Regions from separate parts of the Homo sapiens genome. Here all the other regions are linked to region 4. The links are contacts of gene promoters, found by promoter capture Hi-C in blood cells and fetal thymus (Javierre and others, 2016). All regions are on one chromosome and are shown on one strand. The core of a region is centred on a gene start or on the middle of the fragment in contact, and the rest is flanking DNA. Distances in the headings are between cores, read along the strand shown. Region 1 overlaps KCNN3 (potassium calcium-activated channel subfamily N member 3). Region 2 holds the start of SHC1 (SHC adaptor protein 1). Region 3 has its middle 22 kb from the start of KCNN3. Region 4 holds the start of TDRD10 (tudor domain containing 10). Region 5 overlaps LOC105371449 (a long non-coding RNA gene). Region 6 overlaps KCNN3 (potassium calcium-activated channel subfamily N member 3).

Region 1 (2,866 bases), core at 145-2,644, 270 kb before region 4:
CCATCGTGAAACAGCCAATTTGGCACCTGTGTGCTGGAAGGGACCTTGGGAAGTGGCTCAACATAGAACACTTGTGGTCAGCAAAAAGGAGGGGGTGGTTCCCACACACCAAGCAATTCTCCAATGGACACTGGCTGAGTGTCCTGCAATATAACTCAAGCCTGATTGTCCGCCTGGAGTTAGTGTTGGCTCCCACAGGTTGAGGGCTCAGTCCCACCACATTTACCTGACTTCCGATGCTAGTCACCAGCCCCAGGTTGTTTTATCTGAGCCTCTGACCAAGTGGCTATAAATCAGGGATTCCCAGGACGCCCTTCTCAGGTTTTCATTAATTTTCTAGAGCAGCTCACAGAACTCAGGGAAACACATTTACTGGTTTATTATAAAGGACCTTACAAAGGATTCAGATGAGCAGCCATATGGGAGCGAAGCAAAGGGCAGGGCGCATGGGAAGGGGTGGAGCTTCCATGCCCTCTCTGGGCACGCAACACTCCACGTGTCCAGGGACCTCCATGTGTGCAGCTATCTGGAAGCTCATCGAAACACAAAGAGGGGAACGACAGACACTGAGGGTGGAGAGTGGGAGGGAGAGGATCAGAAAAAATAACTATTGGGTACTGTACCCAATAGTACCTGGGTGACGAAATCATCTGCACAACAAATCTCTGTAACACGAGTTTACCTATATAGCAAACTTGCACATGTACCCCTGAACCTAAAATAAAAGTTAAAAAAACAAAACAAAACACTGTCTTTTTGGGATTTTGTGGAGGTTTCATTACACCGACATAATTGATGACATCATTGGCCATTGGTGATCAACTCAACCTTCGGGCCCCTCTTCCTTCTCAGGAGGTGGTGGGGTGGGGCTGAAAGTTCCAACCCTCTCATCACCAGATTGGTTCCCCTGGCAACCAGCGCCATCCTGAGGCCACCCTGGATCCCCACCCCGACCGACCCCAGCCACTAGTCATCTCATTAGCATACAAATGACACTTATCACTTTGGAAATTCCGAGCGTTTTGGGAACTGTGCCTAAACCAGGATAAAGACCAAGTACATTATTTCTTATTATAAATCACTATATCTCAGGCAGCGATTTGCAGAGGAGGAAAGTGAGGCCAAGAGAGTCAAAGTGTCTTAGCCAGGGCTTCCCAGGTAGACTGAATCCAGCTCTCCCTACTCCACATACAGGGCTCTTGCCACATAGCAAGGCCCCTAAAGAGCATGCTGAGGTGGTCAGGCTGACCTGAGCCCAGCAGCCTGCCCCAGCCTGCCCCACCTGTCCTGCCTGGACCCTGCTGTGGGCTTCCTGGTCCTGGCCACACTAATGGACTTTCTGCTCCCACCAGCTCTTCGTGATCGACAATGGCGCGGATGACTGGCGGATAGCCATGACCTACGAGCGCATCCTGTACATCAGCCTGGAGATGCTGGTGTGCGCCATCCACCCCATTCCTGGCGAGTACAAGTTCTTCTGGACGGCACGCCTGGCCTTCTCCTACACACCCTCCCGGGCGGAGGCCGATGTGGACATCATCCTGTCTATCCCCATGTTCCTGCGCCTGTACCTGATCGCCCGAGTCATGCTGCTGCACAGCAAGCTCTTCACCGATGCCTCGTCCCGCAGCATCGGGGCCCTCAACAAGATCAACTTCAACACCCGCTTTGTCATGAAGACGCTCATGACCATCTGCCCTGGCACTGTGCTGCTCGTGTTCAGCATCTCTCTGTGGATCATTGCTGCCTGGACCGTCCGTGTCTGTGAAAGGTATTCCACATGGGGCTTTCTGAGTACAGAGCCTGTGCTGGGACAGGGAAGGGAGGAGGAGTAGGGGTGCCAGGAAGTATGTGGTCTGATGGAGGAGACAGGCATGTACCCAGACACCTGAAAGGAGACAATGGGAAAGAGGGGAGTGCTGAGTTGGGGTTCAGTATGAGCTAGAATTGCAGCATTGGAACCAAAGTAAGGTGGGAAAAAGGCACAGAATTTTCCTGATTTTCTGTTCCTTCTTTGCAAACCAATATATCAAAGCATTCTGGTTACATCAGTAACTCACATATAACACATTGCAACTTACTCCTCTTGGGTATTAATAATGCTTATTAGCATTTTAAAGGCTCTGAGAAGTCCTGAAGTAATGAAACCATTTATTTTTGTTTGGTTCAGCCTTTCTTAATTGTATTTGCCTGCAAATCCTTTTTATTATAAAGCACTATTGGTACCTTGCTACTCAAAGTTTGGTTCACAGACCAGCAGCACTGGCATCACTGGGAACTTGTTAGAGTTCCCAGAATCTCAGGCCTTAGCCCAGAATGAATGAATCAGAATTTGCATTTAACAAGGTCACCTGGTGATTCATATGCACCTTAGTTTGAGAAGCACTGTACTGATGGAACATACTTTGGGAAACATTGTTTTAGGAGGCTGGTGGTTGGGAGTCATTCAGAGAAGCTACTCATGGGAAAGAAGGGAGATGTGGCCTGACAGAGATCCAGGGCTGTAGAACAAAATGCCAACTCCTTGGAACAGCCATCAACAAGGCTCAAGGGCAGGACTGAAGCCACCTCCTTCCACCACCCTCGAGCTGCCTTTAATGACTCTTCTCCTTGCAAGGGGTCCTGGATTTTCATTTTATTTATTTATTTATTTATTTATTTATTTATTTATTTATTTATTTATTTATCTGAGATGGAGTCTCGCTCTCTCGCCCAGGCTGGAGTGCAGTGGCATAGTCTCTGCTCACTGCAACCTCTGCCTCCTGTGTTCAAGCAATTCTCCTGCCTCAGCCTCCCATGTAGCTGAGATTACAGGCATGCGCCACCATACCAGGCTAATTTTTGTGTTTTTAGTAGAGATGGGGTT
Region 2 (2,889 bases), core at 37-2,536, 470 kb before region 4:
CAGGTGATCCACCCGCCTCAGCCTCCCAAAGTGCTGGTATCACAGGTGTGAGCCACCGCGCCCGGTAGGAATACGTATCTTTGTTTTTTTTTTTTTGGTCACTTTCCAGCTTTGCCTGTGGCATTCTCCGGAAGAGCAGTGGCAGGAAGCCGTGGGTGGCAGGAATGGGTTTGGGACTGTTCCCTGTGTCCAGCTTCAACCCATCTTCTCCTGACACCCCTTTCTCCTGTACTTATTTTTCTCCTGTCCTTATTGACGCAGATGTGTCTTCTGATCTCTCTGTCCCTTCCTGGCCTGTAGTTTCTACTTCTCTTGGAGAACTGTTTCTTCCACCTCCTCCAGCCAGGCTCCTTCCCTGGTGTGAAGGATGCTGTGCTCTTTGGTGGGGCTTAGGGCCCTGTAAGAGGAGGGATGTGAATTGGGGTGGTTTGGAGTGGGAGTGGGGACCTGATTGCCTCATTCTCACCCTTGACAGTGTGCTGTGTTAACAAGCCCTGTGGAAAGGGGAGACAGGACAGTGCTTGGCTATGAGCCATCGGTCTTGGTGTGGTAGATGGCATACGTAGAGAACAAGCCGTGACCAGCATGTCCTCTTGTTCCCTTCTTGCCTGGTAGCTTCCTGATGTATCATCCAGGTTGAACTTTATTCCCCTTTTTTCACCAGCTTTGCTCTTCCTCTTGGCCCTGCTCTGCATCCATTGGGACCACTTACTTCCCATCCCCACTTCGCTAGCTCCAGTCCACAGCTGCTGTAGCAGAGGATGCTAATGGCCCAGGCTTACTGTATGGGGTAGCGGTTGGGGGTGGCCTGGGCTGGGGCCAGCCAGCTTTCGGGCATAGAGAGGGTGGGGGAATTCGAGTGTCCAACCAGGACAGGAAGGGAAATGCTGAGCTCTGAGATCTCCTCCCTTTTCCACCCCCAGCTGCCTCTGTTTCCTCCCTCATTCCCCTGTACTCCTGCCTGGCTTCCTGCCCCCTTTGGCCTGCGTGTGTCCGGTTTTGAGTGACCCAGACCTCCTATCTCCTTCCTTTCCGTCCCACTCTTCCATCCTTCCCTCCCACCCCCACTTTACTTCTCCCCAGATTACTAGTTGTTTGTATAGGGCAGGGGAGAGGGGCTTGGATAGCCCTACCCCCTGCTCCAGTTCGAGGTTGGGGCGGGGTGGGGGCTCAGCCCCTCTGAGCCTGTGAGTCAGCACTGTCCTCACGATTGGTCTCTCCCCTTAGCTCCCCGCCCCTGGGGAGGAGCCAGAAGCGCTGGGTCCAGCCTGTTCTCTTCTCAGCCAGAGAAGAGGCTCCACGTTGGGCGGGGATGGGGCCTGAAACTGTCTGGGTCTGAGCTGGGGAGCGGAAGCCACTTGTCCCTCTCCCTCCCCAGGACTTCTGTGACTCCTGGGCCACAGAGGTCCAACCAGGCTAAGGGCCTGGGGATACCCCCTGCCTGGCCCCCTTGCCCAAACTGGCAGGGGGGCCAGGCTGGGCAGCAGCCCCTCTTTCACCTCAACTATGGATCTCCTGCCCCCCAAGCCCAAGTACAATCCACTCCGGAATGAGTCTCTGTCATCGCTGGAGGAAGGGGCTTCTGGGTCCACCCCCCCGGAGGAGCTGCCTTCCCCATCAGCTTCATCCCTGGGGCCCATCCTGCCTCCTCTGCCTGGGGACGATAGTCCCACTACCCTGTGCTCCTTCTTCCCCCGGATGAGCAACCTGAGGCTGGCCAACCCGGCTGGGGGGCGCCCAGGGTCTAAGGGGGAGCCAGGAAGGGCAGCTGATGATGGGGAGGGGATCGTAGGGGCAGCCATGCCAGACTCAGGCCCCCTACCCCTCCTCCAGGACATGAACAAGCTGAGTGGAGGCGGCGGGCGCAGGACTCGGGTGGAAGGGGGCCAGCTTGGGGGCGAGGAGTGGACCCGCCACGGGAGCTTTGTCAATAAGCCCACGCGGGGCTGGCTGCATCCCAACGACAAAGTCATGGGACCCGGGGTTTCCTACTTGGTTCGGGTGAGTGAACATCCTCCTCTCCATTCCCCCGCAGACCCCCTCCAGTTCTAATGCTCACTCCAGCTTGGCCGGAATCTCTTTTTTCCTGCTGTTCCCCAACAACCCCGTTTCAGTGTCCTATTTCCTAAACCTTTCTCATCCCTTCCCCGATTCTGTAGCCCCTTCCCTTCCAGCTTTGCCTGGGCCCCCTTCCTTCTTTTCACTCCCCCACCCCCACCCTGGCATGCTTAGCACAATGCCCAGCATGGCAGAAGCTCTTAATAAGTGTTGGAATGAATGACTTCTTGATCTTTCCTCCATTCTCCTCCCGCTTTCTGGAGTTGTCACTCCATCCCAGCCAATGCCTGTCGGTCCCCTCCAAACTCTCTCCCCAGTGTGTGAGGTCCTTCTAGCCTGCCTTTTCTTTTTCTCCTCATTCCCTGTTGTCTTTCACCTTGGTTGTGGGATGTAGCCACGGGAAGTGGGCAGAACTTCTTCCTCTTTACTTCCCTTAGGGACCATATGGGTAAAGTCCTAGGGCCCTTTGTGAAGGGGCTGGGGTGGGGGAGCCGCTGACCTGCTGTCCTCTTCTCCCTCCCCTTAGTACATGGGTTGTGTGGAGGTCCTCCAGTCAATGCGTGCCCTGGACTTCAACACCCGGACTCAGGTCACCAGGTTAGTGGGGAGGGAGTGGATTGTGGGAGTCCTGGGATTAGTGAGGCCATGGGAAACAGAGGAGGGGAGTGGGTCACTTGGGTGCTGCTGCTGGGGGCTGATCTTTGCGTAGTAAAGGGGATTGAGAGAAAGCTGAGGTAGTGATTCCGCCTCTTACTGAAAGGAGGCCCCTTTGGCCCGGATCCTCCTTACCTATCCAGCCTTGGGAGTTGTGGGGAAGGTGGCAGAAGCAGC
Region 3 (3,111 bases), core at 348-2,847, 390 kb before region 4:
ATAGAAATACAGTGGATTTTTGTACATTAATCTTGTATCCTGTAACCATGCTGTGCTCATATATCAGTGCTAGTAGCTTTTTTGGAGATTCCATCAAATTTTCTATGTAGATGATCACGTCATCTCTGAATAAAAACATTTTGTTTCTTCTTTTTCAATTTGTTTGCTTTTTATTTCTTTTTCTTATCCTATTGCACTAGCTAGAACCTCCAGTATAATGTTGACTAGGTGGTGAGAGAGGACATGCCTTGTTCCCAGTCTTAGGGGGAAATCACTTAGTATGCTGTTCACCATCAAGTATGCTGTTAGTTGTAGATTTTTTAAGTAGACGCTTTTTATCAGGTTGAGGGTGATGCTGGCCTCATATAATGATTTGGGAACATTTTCTCCTCTTCAATTTTCTGGAAGGGTTTGTATAAAACTATTATTATTTCTTCATTAAATGCTTGGTAGAATTGACCAGTGAAACAATTTGAGGCTGGGGCTTTCTTTATGAGAAATTTTTGAGCTACAAATTTAATTTTTTTAACATATATAGGACTAGTCATGTTATTTATTTCCTCTTGTGTGAACCTTGGTAGTTTGTGTCTTTCAAGGAATTTGTTCATTTCATATAAGTTGTCAAATTTATTGGCATAGAGTTGTTTATAATATTTTCTTATAATCCTTTTAATATTTAAGAATTGGTAGGGATATTACCTCTCTCATTCCTGATTATTGATTAATTTTTGACTTCTTTCTTTTTTCCTGATAAGCCTGGTTAGAGATTTATTGATGTTATTGATCTTTTCAAAGTGCAGCTTTTGGCTTACAGATTTTTTCTTCTGTTTTTCTGTTTTATATCTCATTGATTTCCACTATGATCTTTATTATTTCTTTTCTTTAGTTTACTTAAGATTTAATTGCTCTCTTCCTAATTTCTTACGGTACCAGCTGAAGTCATTTACTTGAGAAGTTTCTTCTTTTCTAATATAGGTATTTGGTGCTATAAGTTCCTCCTAAGTACTGCTTTTGTGGCTTCTCTCAAATATGTTATGTTTTATTTTTCATTCAACTTAGAATACTTCCTGTTTTCCCCTTTGATTTCTTCTCTGAACCATGGGTTATTTGGAAGTGTGTTATTGTGTTCCTAAATGTTTGAGGATTTTGTAAAGCTCTTTTGGTTATTGGTTTCTAATTTAATTCCATTATGTTCAAAGAACATACTTTGTATGGCCTGAAACTTTAAAAATTCTTTGAGACTTGTTTTATGGCCCTGAATATGGCCATTTTGGTAAACATGTTCCATGTGCACATGTAAATAACGTGTATTCTATTGTTGTTAGGTGGAGGGTTTTATAAGCGTCAGTTAGGTCAACTTGGCTGATTGTGTCGCTTAAAGCTTCTATGGCCTTGTTTTTTTGTTTGTCCCCTCTATTCTTTTTTCCTCTCCCCCTCTTTTTCTGCATACTTTTGAATTAATTGAATATTTTAAATAATTCCATTTAATTTATCCTTTTCTTATCCACATAGTTGCCAATGTTGATGATTTTCCTTCCTTTGTGTAGATTTATATATCTGTTATCCTTTTCTTTCTGCTTCAAGGATCTTCTTTAACATTTGTTGTATCTCAGGTGATAAATTATTTTAGCTTTTGCATGGCTGAAAAAGTCTTATCTTACCTTCAGTCTCAAAATATATTTTCAAAGATATAATATACATCTAAGATATATTCAAAAGATATAATTCAAAGTTGGCAGTGTTTTTTTCTTTTAGTATTTAGAGATATTCTTCCATTATTTTCCGGTATGCATTATTTATGACAGGAAGCTTTTTGTCATGCTTATCTTTGTTTCTCTTCATGTAATGTCCCTAGTTGCTTTTAAAATTTTTCTCTTTATCATAGGCTTTGAGCCATCTGATTGTTCTGTGCCTTAGTACAGTTTTATGTTTCTTGTGCTTAGGGTTTATTGAGGTTCTTGGTTCTGTGAGTTTATAGCTTCATAAAATTTTGAATAATTTTGACCATTATTTCTTCAAGTACTTTTTCTGTTCCCCTCTCCCACCCAGCTTCCTTTATTCCCTGGGATTCCAATTACACATATGTTAGGTTATTTGAAGCTCACTGATGCTCTGAGAAAAGTATATTGGATGGGTTTAACAGCAGATAGACATTGTGGAAGAACATACTGGTAAACTTGAAAACATATAAATAGAAATACCCAACATGAAACAGAGAGAAAAAAGACTAAAAAAATGAACCCAGCTGACATTTTCACTGCAACTCCATGAGAGACTATGAGTCAGAATCACCCAGCTATGCTGCACCCTAATTCCTGACCCAAAAAAGCTTTGAGGCAATACATGTTTGTTAATCCCAGCACTTTGGGGGGCCAAGGTGGGCAAATTGCTTGAGCCTAGGAGTTCAAGACCAGCCTGGGCAACATGGTGAAACACCATCTCTACAACAAATACAAACATTAGCCAGGCATGGTGATGCGCACCTGTAGTCCCAGCTATTGGGGGTGGTGGGGGGCTGAGATTGGAGGATTGCTTGAGCCCTGGAGGTCAAGGCTGCAGTGAGCCATGGTGGCACCACTGTACTCTGGCCTGGGTGGCAGAGCGAGAACCTGTCTCTAAATAAATAAATAAATAAATAAATAAATGTTTGTGGTGTAAGCTGCTAAGTTTTGGTGTAGTTTGTTGTGGAGCCATAGATAACTAATCCATCCTCTTTGAATTTTCCTCTAACTTCTCCATGCGTAAGTCTTTCCTCTTTAGCAACTGAGTTATAAGAAGAGAATCATGAATACCCTATTAACTGTACTTTCTTTTAAAACTTTTCATGATTATTTTTTGTTTTTATACTTTTTCTTTTTTAGAGATAGGGTCTCACCATGTTGTCCAGGCTGGTCTTGAACTCCTGGGCTCAGGGAATCTTCCCCTACCTTGGCCTCCCAAAGTGCTGGGATTATAGTCATGAGACACTGCGCCCGGACTGTTTTATCGTATGGCTTCCATTCTTGTAGTCTAGGTTGATTATGATGATTTCGGCAGTACACAATAGAAAACCAATTCAAGTCGGCTTCAACATATGGAGTCACATATTAAGAAGGTTGCATAGGCCGGGCG
Region 4 (2,879 bases), core at 189-2,688:
AAACTAAGTTTAAATTTCTTTTTTTAAACCAGAAAGGTGTTTTTTTGTTTGTTTGTTTTTTGTCTTTTTGAGACGGAGTCTCGCTCTGTCGCCCAGGCTGGAGTGCAGTGACTTGATCTCAGCTCACTGCAACCTGCGCCTCCCGGGTTCAAGCGATTCTCCTGCCTCAGCCTCCTGAGTAGCTGCAACCATAGGCGCGCACCACCACGCCCGGCTAATTTTTGTATTTTTAGTAGAGACCAGGTTTCACCATGTTGGCCAGGCTGGTCTCGAACTCTTGATCTCAGGTGATCTGCCCGCCTCGGCCTCCCAAAGTGCTGGGATTACAGTCGTGAGCCACCGCGCCCGGCCTCAGAAAGCTTTTAAAGGGCTTCGAAGGGAGGGAGGAATGGCAGAGGCGTCTTTTCCCTTAAAGTGGCCACAGTTCTGCACACGGCACTCCCCGCCCGCACAAATCCAGACTAGGAGGGCCGCTCCCAACCGGCGCGAGCGAGCGACGGCCCCGCGGGAACAGCGACCCCTTTCCCCCATCAGTCGGGACGAGGGCGTTTCCCATGGCTGCCTGCCGACGCCCCTCCCTCCCAACCCTCGCCTGGCATCCCGGGACCTGGGGCCGACAAGCCATACCTCGTCTCGCGGGCCACGCGCGTGCACCTGCGATCGCGACGCCCAGCCTTCGCGCCTTCTCCCTCCGCGCTCCGCCCCCTCTGAGCCCGGGGGCACGGGGCGGGGCTTGCCGGCAGCCAATCCCCGGCGGCCACGGCGGGAAGAGCCTCGCGCTGCCCAGGACCGTGTGCCACCGAAGAGTAACGGAACTAGCGCAGGAGCTGGCGACCGTTGTCCCTGCGCCCGGACCTCGGGCCGCAACCTCTGCCCTACCGCCAAAAATAACGTCTGCAGAAAGAGTGGAGTAGAGCGGAGTGGGTGGGCGAGGGGCTTCCTTCCCGGGGGTGAGCGGCGCACGTGACACTCCTGGGCGCGTGTGAAGGCAGCGCCCGGCCGAGACCGGCTCGGTGCAGACGCGGGCTGTCGGCGGCAGAAGGGGGCTCTCTGCTCAGTGGGGCGCGGCCGATCCGCACGTGCGGCCGCCGCCCCTTTCTCCAGAGCTCGCAGCCCGACCCGCCTCTGCCATGGCGCTCACCCCGCCGCCCCCAGCTCTGGGCAGGAGGTGGCGGGGCTGGGAGGCGCCAGCCGCGGAGGGGAGGGGCGCGCGGAGTTGATGGGCCGCTCGCCGTCCGTCCACCGTCTGTCGCTGCGCCGGGGATACTCCCGCCGCCTCCGCTCGGTCCTCTCTGGTCCCTGGGAGCGTGGGCTGGGCCGCAGGGGGCTTCCGTGGGCCTGGCCTCTCCCACCGCAGGAGGAAAGAGCAGGGGGAAGCCCCCGGCGCCCGCCGCCTCCGAGAGCCACGGTGTCCTCGGGCCGGGCAGGCGTTGAAGACGAGCCCGGGCGGGGCCCCCCGCGCGTCGTGCCTGTCGCCTGCCGTGTCCGGAGCAGAGGCTAGCGCCCGCCCGCTCGGCGCCCCGAGCCGTGAGAACCCCACCCTGCCGGGCGTGGGCGACGGCCGGCCGGGGGCGCACGGAGCAGCCGTCGCGGGGCCTCGCCGCGGCCTCCAGCGCCCCAGTCACGGGGAATGCAGTGGTCCCCGACCCCTGGCGCCTCTGCGTGTCTGGGCTGGGCTTCCTCGCTCGCCTGCTCCACGGCCCCGACGCTCCTGGGCCGAGCCGGCCGGGGCCCCCTCATGGCGGCCAAGTGGTTCAAGGAGTTCCCCCTGAACCTGAAGACCGTGTCGGAGCGGGCCAAGCCCGGGGGCGGCGGCGGCAAATTGCGCAAGAACTCGGAGGCGGGCGGCGCTGGGCCGGGTCCTGGCAAGGGCCGCAAGAACTCGGCGGCCGAGCTGGGGAGCGGCAGGGCCGGCGTCGGCCCCAAGGACAGCCGGCTGTCCCGCGACAGCCTGCAGGGTCTGATTCAGGCCGCCGCGGGCAAGGGCCGCAAAAACTCCCGGGCCACGGAGGAGGAGCCCCACCGGGGTGCAACCAAGAGCTCGGGCTGCAGCACCTACATCAACAGGCTCATCAAGGTGGACACTCAGGAGAAGAACGGGAAGAGCAACTACCCCAGCAGCAGTAGCTCCAGCTCCAGCTCCTCTTCCTCCGCGTCCTCTTCCCCTTCCTCCCTGGGGCCCGAGCTGGACAAGGGCAAGATTATTAAGCAGCAAGAGACGGTAAGAATACAGCCTCCCTTGGACCACCTCTCAGTCGAAGGGGAGCCCTGGGCGCCTGCTAAGCCCTAGGCTTCTTTAGACCTAAGAGGCAGTGAGGATAGGTTTCCTAAGGTCCTTTCTCCCTCCACCATTTGGGAATTCCTGACCATTTAAAATTCTTAGACTGTTTTTTAATTCTTGAAAAACTCTTATTTTAGAGGTGGGGAGTTTTGCAGAAATGTACTAGCCATTGAATTTTGTTAGCAGTTTAGAAGAGTCGTTGAATGAGATATTCCTGTTTGGTTACATTTGACCCCTTTATAGATGTGGTTCATTTTAATTTTGATATTCAGGGGAATTGCAAAGCTAGGCTTGTGTATGACTTTTATGCTTCTTGAGCATAAGGAATGGTAACCTCTCAAGTGTGTAGATATGCATTTCAAAGCTTCAGGAAATGGTTTAACCAACAGTCTTCTCCACTGATTTGGAAGTTCCATCATTTTCTGCGGTTCCACCGAGTAAAGGGCTCCTCGGAGGTTCAGCAAATCTCCAAGACTGCTGCCCTTTCATTCATTCCATGGGCATTTGTTGCGCAGCAGCCATATGAGGAAAGGAGCACAGGGCATTAAGGGCTGTGGAGGATACAGAATATGACAAGGAAATGCTCTCAAGGAAATTA
Region 5 (2,936 bases), core at 113-2,612, 410 kb before region 4:
CTCCAAGGCAGAGATATGGACGTGTCTTAACAGGAAAAAGTTGGCATCTTATTGTTCCTGGTAAAGCATTATTGAATAATGAGATGGGAACTGAAATGGTCTTGTGCATCCAACTGTCTGCTGTAACCTAAAGTAGTCACCTTGGGCATTTGGGCTGAGACACTTCAGGGCTGTTGCCTTTATCAAATGGCTTTGGGAGCTCCTCTTTGCTTTGAGGACCTGCCCTCAACTCTGCCAAATTCTCATCCCCAAAAGTGCATTTGGGTTTTGGAAACGACCAAAGGGAATTTGGTACTAAACTCTGGTGAAAGAGACATCTTATGGCCAGGAAAAATAGTCCTGTAATGTAATAATTCTAAAACTTACCAAAGTTAATTCTCAGAGAGGAATTTTTAAAAGTTGCCTTAGTAATCAAGCCTCTGTATCTTCGCATGTGCCATTCATGCTGCCTAAAGTACCCTTCCTAGTTGCTTGGGCTTGGACCCCTACAACTTGAGCAGAGCAAGGGGCACTCCACTTCCATTTCCAGAATGCTCCACAGTGTACACTTTCTCACTCCTCCACCATGCTGTGAGCAAGTAAGGAAAGGTTTTTTTCCTTTCGAGTCTTTGGTACATTGCACATAGTAGAGGTATATTAGTCGGTTTTGCATTGCTATAAAGGAGTACCTGAGACTGAGTAATTTATGAAGTAAAGAGTTCTACAGGCTATACAAGCATGGCACCAGCATCTGTTCTGCTTCTGGTGAGGGCTCAGGAAGCCTCCGCTCATGGCTGAAGGCAAAGGGGGAGCAGGCGTGTCACATGGTGAGAGAGGGAACAAGAGAGACAGCAGGAGGTGCCAGGCTCCTTGAAACAACCAGCTGTCCTGTGAAGTAACAGAGAGAGAACTCACTCATTACCACTGGGATGGCACCAAGCCATTCATGAGGGTTCTGGCCCCATGACCCAAACACCTCCCATCAGGCTGTACCTCCAACATTGGGGATCACATTTCAACATGAGATTTGGAGGGGATAAACATCCAAACCATATCAGTAGGTCTCAATACATGTTTGTGACAATGAAGAAAGTTTATGTGTTAGAAAACAATATGACCTCCTAAGCTTATTGTCATGAAGCAGTTAGCAGTCATTTGGATGTATTAAGTTATGGCGAATGTGTTTGAAGCAAGAACAAATTGCCTCCCGTTGCATTACTCTTACTCATTATAGACAGTCACATGCTGGCAAATGTTTAACAATCAGCTCCCTGGAAGGGGAAAAACAGCCCTGATTTGTAGTGTTTGACCATTTCTGTAGTGTAAATATTCCCACTGTGGCTGATTTCAATCTACCAGTGGGATGTCAGCTGGCTAGCAAAATCCCTGAACATGCAAAATGTTGGCTCTTGCAAGCCAGTAGAAGGTGGCTGAAGCTGGTTCCAATGCACCATTGTACACATTCTACACCTCTTTTGTTTTTCCATCATCACCCAGTTCATTTGCGTGCTCCTTGTACAGCACATGTCTATGACTATATTTTATCCCTTGCATCAATCTGATACTATTTTTATCTTCATTTTACAGGTAGTAAAATAAGGCCCAGAGACAAAGGGACTTGTCCAAGGTGGCAAAGCTTTCCTGTCTATTCCTGGGTTCAGTTTCTCACTGTAGCTCCCTGCCTGGAGCCCGACACTGCAAGGGACTAGAGAGATGTCTTCTTTGCCCAGTTTTCTTTTCTCTGATGTTGAGGGAAGGACCCAAGCACCCTGTGCTTGCCACCAGCTCTCATGCCCAGGACATTCCTGCTGGCAGCTGAGCTGTGATGAATGCTGGCATTTGTCTTGTTCACTTGCTACCTGATAAACAGGTGACAGGGAGTTTAACAACTTTCATTAGACGGGGATCAGCTCTCACTCTCATGGCCTAATTCAGGATCTGGACAGTGTCATGTTGTCTGACAGCCAAGTGAAGTGATGGGTCCCCCTTTACAGTTTAGGATTTTAATTATTTTCTTCCAGGTGAGTCCCAGGAACATCCAGCCAAAGGCAAGTTCTTTGGGAGCCCAAGCTCATGGCAGTGACAGCTCCCCCAGGAGACGAGAGGTGAAACTGATGCCTGCTTCCTGCTATGTTATTTTGTCTTTAACACTTGCCAGTTTCTGGGCTTGTTGAAGGCCTATGTTAGGGACTGTGTGAGACTTTCTGAGAGATCACCACCTAGATATGTGATGTCACACAAAGTGAGTATTGTAATGGACCTCAGTGATCTAGCTCGAAACCTCTTGCTTACAGACGAGGAAACTGAGGCTCAGAGAGGGGAAGTGGTTTGCTCAAGGTCAAGCGGCAATGACTGGCAATGCCAAAAGTTGGCCCCAAGGCTTCTGACTCCCCACTCCGTGCCCTTCCCTCACCCTAAATGTCTCAGAGAGCATGAACCTGTGCCCTTTATCGGAGGAGGGCAGAGACGGCTCAGCCTGAGCCCATGGGAGTTCAGCCCAGTTCCCTGCTTCCTGGGTTTGTCCAGCCTACTCTGAAGAGGCCAGGCCACCTGCCTATTCCACCTGGCATGTCCTGCTTAGGTGAATCAAGCTGTACCAGGATGAGGAAGCCACAGAGTCACTTCCCAGAAGGGAATAATGCTGTGTGCTAGAGGATGATGGGGTGGGAGAGATGGGAACAGACTTGGACTTGCTGTTCCTAGGGTGCTGAGGCTGAGATTCCTGAGGTGGGGGAGGCCCTGCCCTTCACTGTGGCTGTTTTCCATCTGGGCATTGACTGTGTCTGCTAAATGGGACATGCCCAGCAATGTCCTTCTGCCGTGACACCTTTGGTGAATTTCCAGGCATATTAGAACTGAGCCAGTGGTAGCTTTGGCTCCTCAGCTCTTCTGCTGCAGTGGCTGGCTGTCCTCAGGACAGCTGGATTGGATTGGGCATTGTTCTAGCAGATCTGGGA
Region 6 (3,176 bases), core at 144-2,643, 330 kb before region 4:
CTTGAATCTGGGAGGCAGAGATTGCAGTGAGCTGAGATTGTGCCACTGCACTCCAGCCCAGCAACAGAGCAAGACTCTGTCTCAAAAAAAAAAAAAGGCTTAAACAATGGGTTCTAAGCAAATAAGTATCTGTTTAGTCAGTGGAACGAGGAAACAAAAGTTGATGGAGTTCTCCCCACAATTGGAAGTGTTGTTCCCCACCTAGATGATGGGGCCTGCAGGGAAGTGATTTTGCACGATTCTCCTCTTCTTGGGAACAGGCCATAGGGTAGCATCCCTTCATTCATTCATCAAGTATTTATTGAGTGCCTACTGTGTGCCAAGTCCTCTGTGAGGTGATGGAGCAGAGAGACAGAAAGGACCCCGACTGTGCCATGAAGCAGCCCTGAGCCTGGAGGGGCCACTCAGAGGGAGCCCAGGGGCGGCGGCTCTCGGGCTCCAGCCGAGTTTCCTTCAGACCTAGCCCCTTTAGCTGACAATCTTAAAGCCTGGTCCCGGAAAACAGGAATAGTGCGAGAGGGATGAAATGTGGGTGAGGAGAGTGAGACAAGGGTGGAGGTAAGAAAGAGGGATGGAAGAAAAGACGCAGCAAACTTTCCCGTGAGAGAAACGCTCCAGACAGCACCCCAGTTCCCAGCTGAGACTCCCAGCCACAGTCAGCAAGAACCCACAGGAGGGGAGGCCCACGTCCCTGCTCAGCTCTGCCCTGGCAAGTGGGGTCGGAGATGGGGCATTCCCTGCTTGGGGTCTCAGTCTCTCCATCTGTAAAACGAGGCTTTGGACTAGGGGAGCTCAGAGATCTGTTTAGAACTAATATTCTGTAACCGGTGCAGGGCAAAATAGACGGGGGGCAGGAGCCCAAATTAAGGCCAGTCGAGTATCAGGTGGGGTGTTCCTCTGGCTCCTCCTATTACAACAGCAAGAGGGACCCAGGGGTACTGTGGGAGTCCTACCATCTCCTCACTTGTACGAGGTACCTTCTGGCTGCTCTTCCGGCTGCTCAACACTCAAAGAAGGAAGGTGCTGGGTGTCCTTGTTTGCATATTTTTCTGGCACGGACACATTCTTCTTGGAGTTTCTTGACATTAGGGCCACTTGAAATGCTCAAGGTAAGGGCTGCTCTGCCTGGCAGACATGCGTCAGGTGCCTTTGGCTCCTCCCTGGCAAGTCTGCCTCCAGACGCCCTCAGATCCTGTCCCCATGCCTGGCCATGGGGCTATCTGACCACTGATGCCAGAGGGTCACACTCATCAGTCTATACAGAAGACTTGGAAATGTTTTGGCAACCCTGTGTTAGAAGAGTGGGGTTTCCTAACTGTATGGCTTTGGGTAATTGCTTAAATCCTCCCAGCCTTAGTTTTTCCATCTGTGGGTTAGGAGTGGTCCTCTCTACCTCCCAGCATCAAATAGGAAACTGTGCAAGAAAATGCTTTGTAAACAGGAAAGCCCTAAACTGACATCCAGGACACAGTGACTCAGTAGCAAATATATTCTGATATTCAGCCTTTTCCATGGTTACAGCCTCCTCTGTGCCAAGAAATTCAAGTCACCAAGGGTTAAAGCAAGCAAGGCACATGGCCGTGATTGTCCATAATTGATGAAATAAACCTTAAAGGAGTGACATATAATTAATTGCAATTAATCCAGGCACTGTGACACCACCTTGCTAAAAATACTGTCTACTAACAATTGCTTTGATCCAGCAGAATGATGTCTGCCCATGAGCCTGGCAAAGTGTCTGCTAATGGAGTGCACATAGTGGGTGTGGAAGCTGGCAGGTGTGGGGGCAGAGGGCGGGAAGGGGGCCCCAATTCTCTCAGACCCTTTGGCAGCAAATACTACATATATAGGGTGATCATATGATTCATTGTCTAAACTGGGACACTTTTGAGATTATTATATTAATGATTACCATTCATAGTAATAATTATGCCAGATAACAGGCATACACTGGACTCTCCTGGGTAAACCCGAATGTATCGCCACCCTCTGCATAGGCTGTTTTAAGCCCGTGGGAACCCTCGACTGGGAGAGTATTTTCACGTTCATTATCTGCTCTTCCTCACAACAACCCTGGAAGGAAGAAAGGATTTTTTAGTCTCATTGAATAGATGTTAAAGATGGTGATGGTGTCAAACGGTCCAGCTCTAGTCTTTGGCCTGGCTTCCTCGGTGGCTGACCCCATGCAGGTAGAGGACAGCTGGTCAGGACCGGGAGTTCTGGGGATGTGGAAACAAGTGCAGCTCAGGGGGAAAGAAGTAGCAAATCTGGCTTCAGTGGAGCAGGAACAAGCGACCTCCTCCGTGAAGAGCTCAGGGTGTAGGTCTCAGCCGGGACTGTGCTGCGGTCCTTACCAATCCTGGGCTTGGAATCAGAAGCTGTGTGTTTCAAGTCTGGCTCCCACAGTTCAGCTGTGTGATCTTGGCAAATTGTATAATCATTCCGTGCCTCAGTTTCTCATTTGTCAAGTGGGGACAGTTCCTTCCTGTGAGGATTAAGTGAGAGTTTATATGAAGATGGATGGGTAGACTCAGAGCCTGTCATATAACAGGTACTCAGTAAGTCCTTGTAGAGTTTGAATCTGTGGAGAGTTCCTAGAGGCAACACCTGTAGGGGAACCATGGAGATCCTTCTGCCTTGAAATGGCTCTAACTTGAATCAATTAGTGTGGAATGAGCTCCCGCCTTGAGATGGGGCTGCCTCATGTTCTTGGAGAAAGAAATGGAGGAAATAACCACATGGAGGAATTGGGAGGTTCCCTGACCCCCCCTAGACCATGGATAGTCTACTTGGGAGACTCTACTGCATGCCCCGTGATAGGCAGGACCAGCACCCAAGGAGTCTTTGCATCTTGCAGTTTCCTTGAAGCCCTGTACAGGCTGGTGGCCCACGTTGGTGTGTGGCTTCCAGCCTTCCTCCAGGCTCTCAGATGAACATGCTTGGACATGGGCAGGCAGTGGGGCTCGTGTCGTGCCCCATTGCTGGAATTCATGGCACCTCAAAGTAAAAGGTAGGCAGGTTGGCAGCAGTCTGGTGCCAGAGAGCTAGTGAGAGAGAGAAAGAATTATACAAGTGCCATGTTTGGTCTATTAATAGCCTGTGTTTGGTCTCCACCACTTCTATCAACATCGTCCATCACATCCAAACAATTGAAAAACCTGTGCCAAATGTTAGGA

Evidence for each region. Contacts are between HindIII fragments. The CHiCAGO score rates a contact against its expected background, and 5 or more counts as called.
Region 1: a fragment that was not itself captured here is called in contact with the fragment with the promoter of TDRD10 in region 4 in 1 of 17 cell types (neutrophils); the score reaches 5.5 in neutrophils.
Region 2: the fragment with the promoter of SHC1 here is called in contact with the fragment with the promoter of TDRD10 in region 4 in 4 of 17 cell types (activated CD4 T cells, erythroblasts, fetal thymus and 1 more); the score reaches 9.4 in activated CD4 T cells.
Region 3: a contact is called between a fragment that was not itself captured here and the fragment with the promoter of TDRD10 in region 4, in 12 of 17 cell types (activated CD4 T cells, M2 macrophages, total CD8 T cells and 9 more). The highest score is 10.0, in activated CD4 T cells.
Region 5: a fragment that was not itself captured here is called in contact with the fragment with the promoter of TDRD10 in region 4 in 4 of 17 cell types (activated CD4 T cells, M1 macrophages, non-activated CD4 T cells and 1 more); the score reaches 7.9 in activated CD4 T cells.
Region 6: a fragment that was not itself captured here is called in contact with the fragment with the promoter of TDRD10 in region 4 in 1 of 17 cell types (erythroblasts); the score reaches 6.4 in erythroblasts.

What each region holds. Positions count from the first base shown.
Region 1 is chr1:154,770,880-154,773,745 of GRCh38, reverse strand. KCNN3 (potassium calcium-activated channel subfamily N member 3) reads left to right here. Exons shown (of 8, transcript NM_002249.6): 3 at 1,353-1,771. Among named protein-coding and RNA genes, the nearest start is that of KCNN3, 98 kb to the left of the region's middle. The HindIII fragment of the contact is 5,576 bases long and covers 1-2,866 here.
Region 2 is chr1:154,969,144-154,972,032 of GRCh38, reverse strand. It overlaps SHC1 (SHC adaptor protein 1), which reads left to right and starts at 1,286. Exons shown (of 12, transcript NM_001130040.2): 1 at 1,286-2,001; 2 at 2,585-2,655. The coding sequence starts at 1,507. RefSeq lists enhancers at 1,408-1,958, 1,959-2,509. The HindIII fragment of the contact is 11,130 bases long and covers 1-2,889 here.
Region 3 is chr1:154,890,336-154,893,446 of GRCh38, reverse strand. No RefSeq gene overlaps it. Among named protein-coding and RNA genes, the nearest start is that of KCNN3, 22 kb to the right of the region's middle. The HindIII fragment of the contact is 428 bases long and covers 1,384-1,811 here.
Region 4 is chr1:154,500,778-154,503,656 of GRCh38, reverse strand. TDRD10 (tudor domain containing 10) reads right to left here and starts at 1,438. Exons shown (of 13, transcript NM_182499.4): 1 at 628-1,438. SHE (Src homology 2 domain containing E) reads left to right here and starts at 1,245. Exons shown (of 6, transcript NM_001010846.3): 1 at 1,245-2,221. The coding sequence starts at 1,631. The HindIII fragment of the contact is 2,286 bases long and covers 362-2,647 here.
Region 5 is chr1:154,911,862-154,914,797 of GRCh38, reverse strand. LOC105371449 (a long non-coding RNA gene) reads left to right here. Exons shown (of 2, transcript XR_001738239.2): 2 at 2,001-2,936. Among named protein-coding and RNA genes, the nearest start is that of PMVK, 23 kb to the left of the region's middle. The HindIII fragment of the contact is 510 bases long and covers 1,108-1,617 here.
Region 6 is chr1:154,834,025-154,837,200 of GRCh38, reverse strand. The region is part of intron 1 of KCNN3 (potassium calcium-activated channel subfamily N member 3); the gene reads left to right. Among named protein-coding and RNA genes, the nearest start is that of KCNN3, 35 kb to the left of the region's middle. The HindIII fragment of the contact is 3,819 bases long and covers 1-3,176 here.